Linked DNA regions of Homo sapiens: regions 1, 2 and 3 are each linked to region 4. The links are contacts of gene promoters, found by promoter capture Hi-C in blood cells and fetal thymus (Javierre and others, 2016). All regions are on one chromosome and are shown on one strand. Each heading gives the region's core, a stretch centred on a gene start or on the middle of the fragment in contact. The rest is flanking DNA. Distances are from core to core; before and after follow the strand shown. Region 1 overlaps TNPO1 (transportin 1). Region 2 overlaps TNPO1 (transportin 1). Region 3 overlaps TNPO1 (transportin 1). Region 4 holds the start of ZNF366 (zinc finger protein 366).

Region 1 (3,293 bases), core at 305-2,804, 340 kb before region 4:
ATCCTCCCACCTCAGCCTCCTGAGTAGCGGGACCACAGGTGTGTGCCACTATGCCAGCTAATTTTTACAGAGATGGAGTTTCACCATTCACTATGTTGCTGATCTTGAACTCCTTGCCTGAAGCAATCTTCCTGCTTTGGCCTCTCAAAGTGCTGGGATTACAGGCGTGAGCCACCTTGCCTGGCCTGAGGTATCCTTATATCCCAAGAAAGAGCCACCTTGCCTGGCCTGAAGGAAGTATCCTTATATCCCAAGAAAGCTGTACTCAAGAGTATAATATTGTAACAATCCTAATATTTGGAATGTAGGATAAGAACATGAGAGTGGACAGCTTAGTGAAAATAAATTTAAAAATTTCAAATAAAACAATTAGATTTAAAAAATCCATTTATAAATATCTTAGTATAAGAAACAAACAGGTTGATCACAAACTGTCAGAAAAATTTCTATATTAAGAAGCAATGTATCGCAAATATCAAACTAGGAATATTAATTGTTGAAATAATTCTTAGTTTCTTAAAACCTAGACTTAAGAGTTCTAAATTTTCTATTGTGTCCTTCATTCACAAATTAAAATCCCCCAAATTAACTACAAAATCAACTGAAAATAATTCAAAAGAAATCACCGTGCAAGAATTATGAAAATCTGAATACAAATCAGTGAGTTTTTACTACACAATAACACTATTAACCTGTCAGAATTTGGAGCTGAAACTTTACAGATGGTCTGGTTGTCTAAACCTTGTTATTTCCCAATTCCAAGTGCAGTGATTTTATTAATTGCACCATGGCTTCTAAAACACTAATCACTGAATAGGGTACAGCGCTTTCATTTAGAGGCCAATCAGTTGCGCAATAAATATTTAATTGACTTCTATGTGTCCACAATGTTTCAGGGAGGGAATACCCAAATAATGCTATGAGAAACAACTCTCACTACAACGTAAGCTCCTTGAGGGCAGTGATTTTTGTCTGTTTTGTTCACCTTTCTCTCCTGAGCCTGTAAATTGCATGGCAGAGATGGCGCTCCATAAATATTTATGAAATAATGTCTAGTGGGATGCGTTACATATTATTAGAAATAATCAAATGACCATGTTATTTAAAAATCAGACTACTCAGGCTTTAAACTGTCATAGAAATCATTTAAATTTAAAATTAAGAGTCATGAAAAAGTTTCATGTAGACTTTTAGAAGTTTTTTAAAAAGTTACAAAAGTCTACTTATCAATAGAATGATCCCACTTTTTGCTAAATAATTTTAAAATAGTATGTGACCATATAAGAGCAGAGAAGGATATAATTGAAGAGATCAACAATAATCATCTCTGGAAGATGGGATAAATAATTTTTCATTTTGATTATATGACCTTTCAATTTTTTTCTACAAAAAACACACATATTCAGTTATTAAAACCTACATTCAATCTTTGTATTACAACCTTTGTTATATCCATCTATATGCATGAAAGCAAAACATTAAAGTAGACTTTGCAACAAGTTTTTCATCTGCAAAGAATTAAGTAACTTATTATACAAACACCCTATTAAAAATGAATGCTGGCTGGGCACAGTGGCTCACACCTGCAATCCGAGCACTTTGGGAGACTGCGGCAGGCGAATCCCCAGAGGCCAGGAGTTCAAGGTTAGCCTGGCCAACAAGGCAAAACTCTGTCTCTACTAAAAATACAAAAAAATTAGCTGGATGTGATGGCGCATGCCTGTAATCCCGGCTACTAGGGAGGTTTGGCATGAGCATTGCTTGAACCCGGGAGGCAGATATTGTAGTGAGCCAAGATCGCACCACTGCACTCCAGCCTGGGTGATAGAGTGAGACTCTGTCTGTATATACATTAAAAAAAAGGAATTCTTATTAAACATGTAAATACTGAGTGGTATTAACTAAGACTGTTTATCCCACATCTATAAAGCACAAGGTTACTACAAAATGAAATCCTTTGAAATGAATAATTCTCAGTACATTTAAACAGGTCTTAAAGAAACTTTAAATAGTTATCAATACAAATCCTACTTACCTTCAGATTTTAATTTTGTAAGAACAAAAATCAAGTAGTTGTTAAAGTCTGGATACTGATTAAGTTGTTCCAGTTTCTAGAACAAACAGTAGTTAAGGAAACTTCTCTGTGTAATCTCAGGAAGAAATTAAGCATTTTAAATCTAAAAATCAAGGATCTCTTTGGTGGTATTTTCAGTCCTGCGTTTTTTTTTTAAACTAAGAATAAGGATATCTTACTAAATCTATCAACATCTATTTCAAAAACACGCTAGTGCTTGCTAAACCTCTTAGGTGCTTTATGGCTGAAATGTATCAATTACATGCAATACAACATAAGAAAGTTCCAGCTTCAGCATGCTCAATATAGCAAAAAATATTCAAAAAAATTCTTGGATTTCAACTTTAAACCATTCTAAATAGAAAGGTATTTAAGCATAAAATGACAAAAATAAAAGCATTCCAAATGAAAACAAGTCTTTCAGAGTTGAAGATCATTTAGAGAAATTAACTTTATAGAATAACTTTTAAAAAAAAGATACTTCTCAGACTCATTTGTTCTTTAGAATCCAAAAAGATAAAGTGCCATTTATGCACAAGGCTATATATCTTATTATAAAGTCAGCATTATGAGATTATTGCACTACAGCTGTACAATTCTTCCCCTCATCCCCAAGATGCAACATTTTTAGTGATACCAATTTGCAGGTATTTCATCGCTGTCGGGAGGCAGCTGTGACAAAATGCTCTATTACATCTTTCTTCAAGCCCTGACTCCCAACCCCTAACTAACATGCTTCCCAATTGTGTTTTACTACACAGAAAGATTAAAATGTTTTGTCACCCAACAAATCTAAATTTCTGATTAAATCCATGAATCAAACTCCAGTAACACTTTATTAGCTATTTATTACATATTTGAATACCCTCAATGTTTATGGGTCAGAAAGTAAACGAACCAACAACATAGTCTCTAGTAAAACTGCAAGGTGTAACTACTTTCTCCAACCAAGACAGTAATTCTTGTTTTAGTGAATGGCCCAGATTAACAACAAGCTGATATGCCAATGAATTTTTCAAAACTATTTCCTGATAAAGTTTACCTTTTTACAACTTAAGCTACATCTCTTTATCCTATTATAGCGGTCTTTCAAAAAGTACTCAAAAGCCTATACAAAATAATAATTAAATATATTATCTTCTTAGGAGAAACAAAATAAGGCACTCTGAAACAGCAGTATGTATTCTTAGCTAAAGTAGTTTTCCTCTCACAGCAACAG
Region 2 (3,240 bases), core at 120-2,619, 330 kb before region 4:
TAAATCAGTACAAAAATTGTATACGGGCAAAAACTTAGTCATGTGTCAGTTAAGGACAGGGATACGGTCTAAGAAATGCATTGTTAGGCAATTTCCTTGTTGTTGTAACATCATAGAGTGTGCTTACATGAACTTAGATGGTATAGCCTACTACACACCTAGGCTATATGGTATAGCTTGTGGCTCCTAGGCCACAAACCTGTATAGCATGTTGCTGTACTGAATACTGCAGGCAATGGTAACACAATGGTAAGTACTTGTGTATCTACACATATGTAAACATACAAAAGGTATGGTAAAAAAGCATAAAAAGATAAAAGGCATAAAAATAAAAAATAAAGTATAAAAAGCATGAAAAATAAAAAAATGGTTTATCAATATAAGGGACTTAACATGAATGGAGCTTATAGGACTAGAAGTTGCCCTGGGTGAGTCAGAGAGTAAGCGGTGAGTGAATGCAAAGGCCTAGGACAATACTGTACACTACTGTACTTAAACAACAATTTCTTTCTTCAATAATAAATTAACCTCAGCTGTTACTGTAACTTTTTATTTTATGAACTTTAGATTTTAAAAGTTTTGACTCTTTTAATACTTAGCTTATAACACAAACACACTGTACAGCTATACAAAAATATTTTCTCCTTATAGCTGTATTCTACACACTTTTTTATATTAATTTTTGTTTTACTTTTTAAACTTTTTTGTTAAAAATGAAGACACGAACACACACATTGGCCTAGGCCTGCACAGGGTCAGTGTCATCAATGCCACTGTCTTCCACCTCTGTATCCTGTCCCACTGGAAGGTCTTCAGCAGCAATAACAAGCATGGAGCTGTCATCTCCCATGATAACAATGCCTTCTTCTAGAATACCTCCTGAAGGACCTGGCTGAGGTGGTTTTACAGTGGACTTTTTAAAAAATAAGTAGAAGTACACTAAAAATAACAATAATATAGTAAATACATGAACCAATAATAGTTATTTACTATCATTATCAAGTATTATGTATTGTGCATAATCATATGTGCTATATTTTTATATAACTGGCAGTGCAGGTTTATTTACACCAGGGCCACCGCAGACATATGAGTGAGTAATGCATTGCATTACAGCATCAAGACGCAATAGAAGCTTTTCAGCTCTCTATCATAATCTTATGGGACCACCATGGTATATGTAGTCCATCGTTGACTGAAATGCATGAGTGTAGTTAATGGAGGGTGCACCTCATATTATGCAAAGGGATAGGACAAGAAAATTCTATAGAGATGGTCCAAAAGTGGGAAAAAATCAGTAGGAACTAATGTCATATGATAGACTACCGTACAACTAAAAGTTTAGTACAAAAAACAGCAGCATATATTCTGTAAGTGTTCACATTATTTTTCTGTTACTGTGATAAAGAAACACTGAGGCTCAACCAGGATTAATGAGACGTATAAAAATTCATGAGTATAAAAAACAGAATGAAATGTGAGATGGGAAGGAAATCTGAAATGACACTGGACACAAAAGATAATGTTAATCTGTACACATTAAGAAAGTGTTCAGTTTATAAGCATGGACCCTTAAAACTGAATCTTAGGTTAAAAAGCTTATTTTAGTCTTACAAATAGAGATATTAAGTTGTTGGCCAATTGAATATCATGTCCATTCATTCCCCTCAGCCCACAAAATAAAAATTTATTAACTTTAACTGTAATTAGAGAATGGCAATCATAGCATCTAAGCTTCAGAATGTAATGAGTACTAGACAACATCTATCCAATCCTCTTATTTTAAAAATGGGGAAATCAAGACCCAGAAACCAACATTACAGATTAAGAGGGGCTGTGTGCAGTGGCTCATGCCTGTAATACCAGCACTTAGGGAGGTAGAGGTGGACGAACTCCCTAAAACATTCAAATTCTTCCACTTAAAGCAAAAACATCTTGGGACTAGTTTGTCATAATACATAACATTATATAATTATGTAATATATATAATCATGTGGTATATATTTGAATTTTTATCTAATATTGCTATCCTGATTAAGCTCTTTTATTTTCAAGAGGGGGAATAACTCAAATTCGGATTGTCTAAGAGAAAAGGGGAGGTTTATTTTAAGTCATTCATGGATTAGAAATAGAAAGCCATCAGGAAGAAGGCAGTTTTCAGCAGCAGGGAGTTCTCTAGGAATTGCAGGGTTGGTACAATGAAGGCTGATGACTGCCATGGGAATTAATTTCCTTTGATTTGAACACCAATGTAAATCTGAGAGCTGACATGCAAGTCTCTGAAAGGTAGGAAGTCTAATGAATATACCCAGATGGGTGGAGAGTAAACTGAGTGGGAAGAGTAGAGAAAACCCAGAATAAAGTCATCTGCCAATTCAGGTGTACACCTCTTTACGGACAACAGAATTCATTCCCCATCTACTTCTATCCCTCTCCTCTCCTCTCTTCCCCTATCTTTTCCAAATTACACTATTTTGTTTCTGAGCACTGACAATCACTGCCACTGATGCCATCAAGGGAAAAAACACCTCACAATATTCATTTTACTAACACTTTACAACAGGAGAAGATGTAGGGACAGTGGCAATTTACTCTCACTATGATGCTAGCTTTCAGGTAGTACTTGGTTCTCAAGACTCAGACACTCCATATCTCAAAGGACCTACAACATCTCTTAGGCATTTCCAGGAGGTACCACTGTTGACAAATATAGCAGATGAATATCTGCTTTGTATGAACAAGCATAAAAGAGAGCTCCTAAAATATTCCAACAAGAAAGCAATATATTAGTAACTTTTCTGGGAAGCTAATATAGAACGAATAGTAGCACATGAAAGAAAATTCACAGGAGGAAATACAACATTAAACAAACATGAGAAAATGCTGAACCTTACTAGTAATCAAATAAATGTAATAATAAAGTAATGGTTTTAGTCCAATTAGCAAAGATAATTTTGGAATGATAATATCCTATGCTGCTGAGGAGATGATGATTCAACTTTTAACAAATTACTGATGGTAGTGTAAAACTAGTATGACCTATAAGAAATAACTCAACAATCTATATTGAGCCATATACATTTTCATACACTTTGTCCTCATGATTACACTTCTGAGCCTATATCCTAAGAATCCTAAATACACAAAAGAGAGTATTATACTCAAAGATTTTATCCCAGGGTTATTTCTAGTATCAATAGTAAATATATGGCAAATAATATAACCTTCAACTGATGGGGC
Region 3 (3,013 bases), core at 27-2,526, 360 kb before region 4:
TATCTCTGAATCACTGTCTATCCCTGATCTCATTATTTTTCCATTGTACTCATGACTGTATGAAATCATATTACTTATTCATTATCTGTCCTGTCTCCTCTTCTGAAATATAACCCCATGAAAACCTTTCTTTGTCTTAACCACTGTGCCAAAAACAGTTGATTTTTGGTTCTGCAGTTACAGCAAAGCACATAAACATTTACCAAGATAACATTAAGTGAAAAAAGCATACTATGGGGAGCTCAACCCCTTAAATGTTCAACACAGGGTAAGCTACCTATGCTTTAAAGTGTGTTTTTCTCATTCTATAAAACTACTACTGGCTGGGCGCAGTGACTCACGCCTGTAATCCTAGCACTTTGGGAGGCCGAGGCGGGCGGATCACTTGAGGTCAGGAGTTCTAGACCAGCCTGGCCAACATGGTGAAACCCTGCCTCTACTAAAAATACAAAAATTAGCCGGGCCTGGTGGTGCATGCCTGTAATCCCAGCTATTCGGGAGGCTGAGGCAGGAGGCAGGAGAATCGCTTGAACCCGGGCAGCGGAGGTTGCAGTGAGCCGAGATCGCGCCACTGTACTCTAGCCTGGGCGATGGAGAGAGACTCAGTCTCAAAAAAAACCAACTCTGTCTCAAAAACAACAGCAACCTACAATTCATTCATTTGTTGGGGGGATTAAACTACATGAGCTAATATATATGTTAAGTACTTGGCATAGTAAACAAATGGAAAAAAAATACAATAAAGTCTTTTAAAGGGCCTTTAAATCAAGAACAGAAATCTTTTAACTTGCATTTTTTTTGTGTGCATGTAAGGCAAAATTTAAAGGCAGAAATCTCTCCTATCCCCAACCTCCAGAGGCACCTACTACTAGCCTCCCCAAACCATTTTTAGAAACTTGGGAACAGTTAGGACTTACATTTTAAATTAAAAGAAACAGTGTGACGTGCTTTCTTTGGAAGTTTAATATAGTTTCTATACATCAGCAATGAAGGAAAAAACTAGAAAGTGTAACTTAAATGCTACCATTTACAATAGTATCATAAGACCAAGTAAGTGCCTGGGAATACATTTAATATGTAATATGTTCAAGGCCTCTAAAAAGAAAAGTAGAAAACTTCATTAAAAACAAGCAATTGGCTGGGCACGGTGGCTCACGCCTGTAATCCCAGCACTCTGGGAGGCTACGGTGGGCGGATCACCTGAGGTCAGGAGTTGGAGACCAGGCTGGCCAACATGGTGAAACCCCATCTCCACCAAAAATAAAAAATTAGCTGGGAGTGATGGCATGCGCCTGTAATTCCAGCTATACTTGGGAGGCTGAGGCAGGAGAATCGCTTGAACCTGGGAGGTGGAGGTTGCAGTGAGCAGGGATAATGCCATTGCACTCTAGTGTGGGAGACAAGAGTGAAACTCCGTCTCAAAAAAAAAAAAAAAAAAAGCAATTAGTATTGTGAAAATGACTATTTCTTCTAAATTGATCCACAGATTTAATGTTATTCCAACGTAAATTCCAACAAGGCTTTTCATAAAACTTGACAACTGTAGAATTTATAAGGAAGAGAAAAGGCATTCCTACTGTCCTACTGAAAGCTCTAAATATCATTTCCCAATAAAAGGAATCAGATCTAGGCCAGAAATACAGATGATAAACTTGGAATGCTATGGATATCTGTGTATATAAAAATAAAACTTCCTTGTATTGATTTCTGGTGATCAAAGGCAATAACAAAGGCAGAATAATTACTCATGTCACATATTCATAATCAATATCAATTTGTTAATTAGATCTGTCTGATACTATATAAATGGCATTTGTTTGTGAAGAATGAATTTTTCTCCAATATGATCTCTTCCTTATAGATTATAAGAAAATATTCCCCCAGAAGCATCTGAGGTATTTAGTAAGCTCAGAGTAATTCTGTTAAATCATGTATATTTTCAATTCTAATTTCTCATCCTGAAAGTCTGCATATTCCAGGTCAAATTCTGATTTTTAGCCTTTCTTCAACTCATATTTTTATAAGGTAAAACTGTCTTTATTTATTTTTTTGAGATGGAGTCTCACTCTGTCACCCAGGAGGGAGTGCAGTGGCGCAATGTCAGCTCACCACAACCTCCGCCTCCTGGGTTCAAGTGATTCTCGTGCCTCAGCCTCCCAAGTAACTGGGATTACAGGTGCATGCCACCATGCCAGGCTAACTTTTGTATTTTTAATGGAGGTAGGATTTTGCCATGTTGGCCGGGCTGGTCTCAAACTCCTGACCTCAGGTGATCCACTCGCCTCAGCCTCCCAAAGTGCTGGGATTACAGGTGTGAGCCACTACGCCCTGCCATTTATTATTTTAAAAGTTCTGCCAATTTTATATGTTGTAAAACTGTAGGCCTTATTTTCATTCCATTCTGGGACATAATATAAATTTACCTTATAAATAGGAGTAACGTTACCCAAAATTTTTTTCAAGTTGAGATAAGCCAGAACACAATAAAAATACGGAAAAATTATCTTAATATAGTTTGAGCTGTTTGTACAACTCTTTCCTTGCTGTGTAGAAATTCATTGCAATATGTTATAAACTTTTTTTATTTTGAGATGGAGTTTTGCTCTTGTTGCCCATGCTGGAGTTGCAATGGCACGATCTCGGCTCACTGCAACCTCCGCCTCCCGGGTTCAAGTGATTCTCATGCCTCAGCCTCCCGAGTAGCTAGGATTACAAGCACCCGCCACCACGTCCAGCTAATTTTTTGTATCTTTAGTAGAGACAGGGTTTCACCATGTTGGCCAGGCTAGTCTTGAACCCCTGACTTCAGGTGATCCACCGCGCCCAGCCTAAACTTTAAGTAACTGCAACTTGTTAAAAAAAGAAAAAAGCCTCAAACACTCCAATTTTTGCTCTAAGATATATCAGAATTCAATTTGAAGCTTTAGTCATGAAACAGCAATAGAATAAAATAGAGGGCCCATTAATACACCTATGCACGCATATAACTAAGCATATAACAGAGGTGACATTT
Region 4 (3,049 bases), core at 114-2,613:
ATACATGCACACATATTCAGATAACTAGATAGACAGGGAGATAGATAGATATATGGATAGATTAGATAGATAGATGATAGATAGATAGATAGATAGATAGATGATAGATAGACAGATAGATGATAGAAAAATATCTGTCAGAATAAAAACATAATCCTATAGGCCAATAAGGACTCAATCAAAATCTTACAGGGTCACTGAATCAGAATCATTCTTCCCCTGAACTCACTTTCATGACTCTTTGCAATCAGGTGTATCTGTCCACCCCATTTTTTTCACAGTTGGGTGAAATGAGGAAGTAGTGTAAGGCTGGTTTTTCTTTTGCTGCCACAAAGGTCTACATAACTGCTGGTTCCTGTTCACAGTGAAAATGGTCCTAACCAGATGAATAAGGGACACAAGAGACATAACACAAATCAGAGAAGTTAAAACCAAGCTTATTCCTAAGTGCAACTAGCCTAAGCAAGCTCATGCCTGCCTGCTGAAGCCCCAAGTCTTCTACCTTGATAAAGGTTACTCCCTCCATTTTAACTGCTCCTGCCTCCCCTATCTTTTTTCGAACACCATGGCTGATTTATCTAAACCCTATGCTGCTTCACAGTATTTTGAAAACAAATTAGAAATCTCCTTCCAGTTTTCCAGAGGTGATTAAATCCAAGACGCCTTAGGAATGTAGAGGATAGAATAATATAAACAACAGATCTGAGATAACCATGGCCGGCAGCAGTTGTGGTTAGTTGCTTCTTTTCCTTTTTCATCCATCAGTGATGGAAGCTGGATTGGGTCCACTGTATAAAGTTCGGTGGGCATAAATCTGCTATTTGATCCTGGAAAAACTCTAAGGATCTAGAGTCAGCGAGGAATTGCAGCAATGCTGGTGTTTCAAAGGGCCTAAGAAAAGCCAGGAGTCCTGGCTGCCCAGCCCCGACACTGTCTTACAGGCTGCAGGTTTACCTTGGTTAGCACAACAGGCCAAGCTCTCCCTTGCTCTAAGTCGACATGACATGATTTGTTCCCTTTCGGCTGTGTCAGTTCTGCAAACCAGATACCAGAGGCTGCAGGCTCAGGAGAGCCTGCCTGTCTGGAACACCGTTTGTTTGGACAGGACAGGCCACTAAGGCGTTTCATCTCTTTAAAGCTCCCAGGGCAGAGAACATATTTGAGGAATTCCTTTTTTCAAAGATTTTTTTTTTTTGCCCCTTCCAACATTTTGTTTAAGAGAAAATGAGATGTCTATCTTCTGTTTCCTTATTTTTTTTCAGGAAAGCAAAGGGTTGTTGACTTCCTCCCTCTCCCCTCCCTTCCTTCCTTCTTCCCGAAGGTACTCATCTGAGAAAAAGAGAACGAAGTATTGTTCCTGTTCTCTTTCTTAAGTCATTCGAAACACTGTCCCTGCGAGTTCTTTAAGTTCCCTGCAATCTGTACACAAGAGAAAGAGGGAGAGAGAGAGGGAGAGAGACAGAGAGAGCAGGGATCAGGTAAAGGAGTGGGGCTGCTGCAGCCATTCAGACCTCAGGAGCTGGTAAGTTACCCATGCAATCATTTCTGCTTCCTTTTCAAGGTTCCTGGGTGGATACTGCTGTGGGCATCTTCAACAGAAAATACCTTACTGGGAGTAGTCCTTAACCAAAGGGTATAAGTGATAGATGGCCCAGAATTTCAGCTAATACTTTTTTTTGGTAAGAGAATACTGATGCTTTGCAGAACTAAGGCTGGCAAAACTAGAAATAGAATTACATTGGGACTAAAGAGGACACTGCGTTAAATCTGAATTTTGGCACAGATCATGTGGCTGGGAGAACCAGGAGCCACTGGCGTGTGAGATGTGTCCCACTGGAGAATTTGCTCTTCCTCAGTACTGTGTCCTGGGAGCCTTATCAGGGTGTCTGTTAAGGACTGTGGTTTGCTCTGGGGTTTTTGTTAATACGTTACCTGGATTGAGGTGCCCTTCTCCTGTTCTTTTCTTTCCATTCAGCATCCCCCTAAAGGAGGATTGTTAATTGTTATATGATGGTTATTCTGCATCACTGAAGTAGAAGGGAAAGAGAGAAGGGAATGTCACTTGGAAATAGTTCTGCATGTGGGGAGCTTATGTGTTCAGGTTCCCCATGCGGGTTGAGTGTAAATTTATTATTCACTGTCAGTGGAAGATGTCATCTGCCACATGATAGAAGGCAAAGGTTTTGGGGCATATAGCTTTAGTTTTGGAAAACAATATGCAGCTAGAATGGGAGGATTAAGATGGATCATTTATGTCAGTAGGAGGGAAAAACTAAGTTACAGACGCAATTGAAAAGCATTCACCCAGTGCCTGGTTTTCCAAGCACCAAATAGGGCGTAGCAAGCTAGTCAAGCTAACATACACAACTAGTTTTTAAAAGTCTAACTTGCTTCAATTAGATTAGTCATAAAGGATAATGTTACCAGCACCTATCATCGCAAGCCATGAGGGAGCCGAAATCATGTTGTCAAAAATAGGTCAGCAAGGTCACTCCGAGAGACTCGTTATGTTTCCCAATATTAATACTTTAATTCAGAGAGATGCCGAATGGGTAAAAGCCAATGGCCAAGCATACTTTTTAAAAATATTCACTGCTATGAAATTTACTGATTGAAATCACCTGGGATGTGAAGAATAAGATAAAAATAGCTGGACTCTCATTTTAAAAATTAATTTGGCTAGACTATGCTTTAACCACATTCAAGTAATTAATCTTTATTCAAAATTGAACCATCATCTTACTAAGGATGAGAAAACATGACAGAACTAGACTGTGATGTAGCTTTTGTTCCATTAGTCAGACCTCTTTTTTCTTCTCCTTTTTTCAAGGATTTTCTTTAGGAGCATCATAAAACGAGCAATGTAAAGAGACGTGAATAGCGTTTGCCAGCTTGCGGATGCAAAATTATTCTAATAACAATTGAAAGTGTTTTACTGCTACCCTACCACCTCCCCTAACTACTCCATTTCCATAGATCTTCAGATCAAGAGGTAGCTGGAATAGATTGTCGAGGGCATTATTGCATCATTTATCAGCAACTGTGGCCC

What was found. Contacts are between HindIII fragments. The CHiCAGO score rates a contact against its expected background, and 5 or more counts as called.
Region 1: a contact is called between a fragment that was not itself captured here and the fragment with the promoter of ZNF366 in region 4, in 4 of 17 cell types (M2 macrophages, M0 macrophages, endothelial precursors and 1 more). The highest score is 8.3, in M2 macrophages.
Region 2: a fragment that was not itself captured here is called in contact with the fragment with the promoter of ZNF366 in region 4 in 1 of 17 cell types (M1 macrophages); the score reaches 6.1 in M1 macrophages.
Region 3: a contact is called between a fragment that was not itself captured here and the fragment with the promoter of ZNF366 in region 4, in 1 of 17 cell types (endothelial precursors). The highest score is 5.0, in endothelial precursors.

What each region holds. Positions count from the first base shown.
Region 1 is chr5:72,850,062-72,853,354 of GRCh38, reverse strand. TNPO1 (transportin 1) reads right to left here. Exons shown (of 25, transcript NM_002270.4): 3 at 2,036-2,111. Among named protein-coding and RNA genes, the nearest start is that of MIR4804, 27 kb to the left of the region's middle. The HindIII fragment of the contact is 5,274 bases long and covers 1-3,293 here.
Region 2 is chr5:72,831,978-72,835,217 of GRCh38, reverse strand. All of the region lies in intron 1 of TNPO1 (transportin 1), which reads right to left. Among named protein-coding and RNA genes, the nearest start is that of TNPO1, 17 kb to the right of the region's middle. The HindIII fragment of the contact is 463 bases long and covers 1,138-1,600 here.
Region 3 is chr5:72,868,585-72,871,597 of GRCh38, reverse strand. All of the region lies in intron 6 of TNPO1 (transportin 1), which reads right to left. Among named protein-coding and RNA genes, the nearest start is that of MIR4804, 8.5 kb to the left of the region's middle. The HindIII fragment of the contact is 3,294 bases long and covers 1-2,923 here.
Region 4 is chr5:72,505,724-72,508,772 of GRCh38, reverse strand. ZNF366 (zinc finger protein 366) reads left to right here and starts at 1,363. Exons shown (of 5, transcript NM_152625.3): 1 at 1,363-1,522. The HindIII fragment of the contact is 5,585 bases long and covers 439-3,049 here.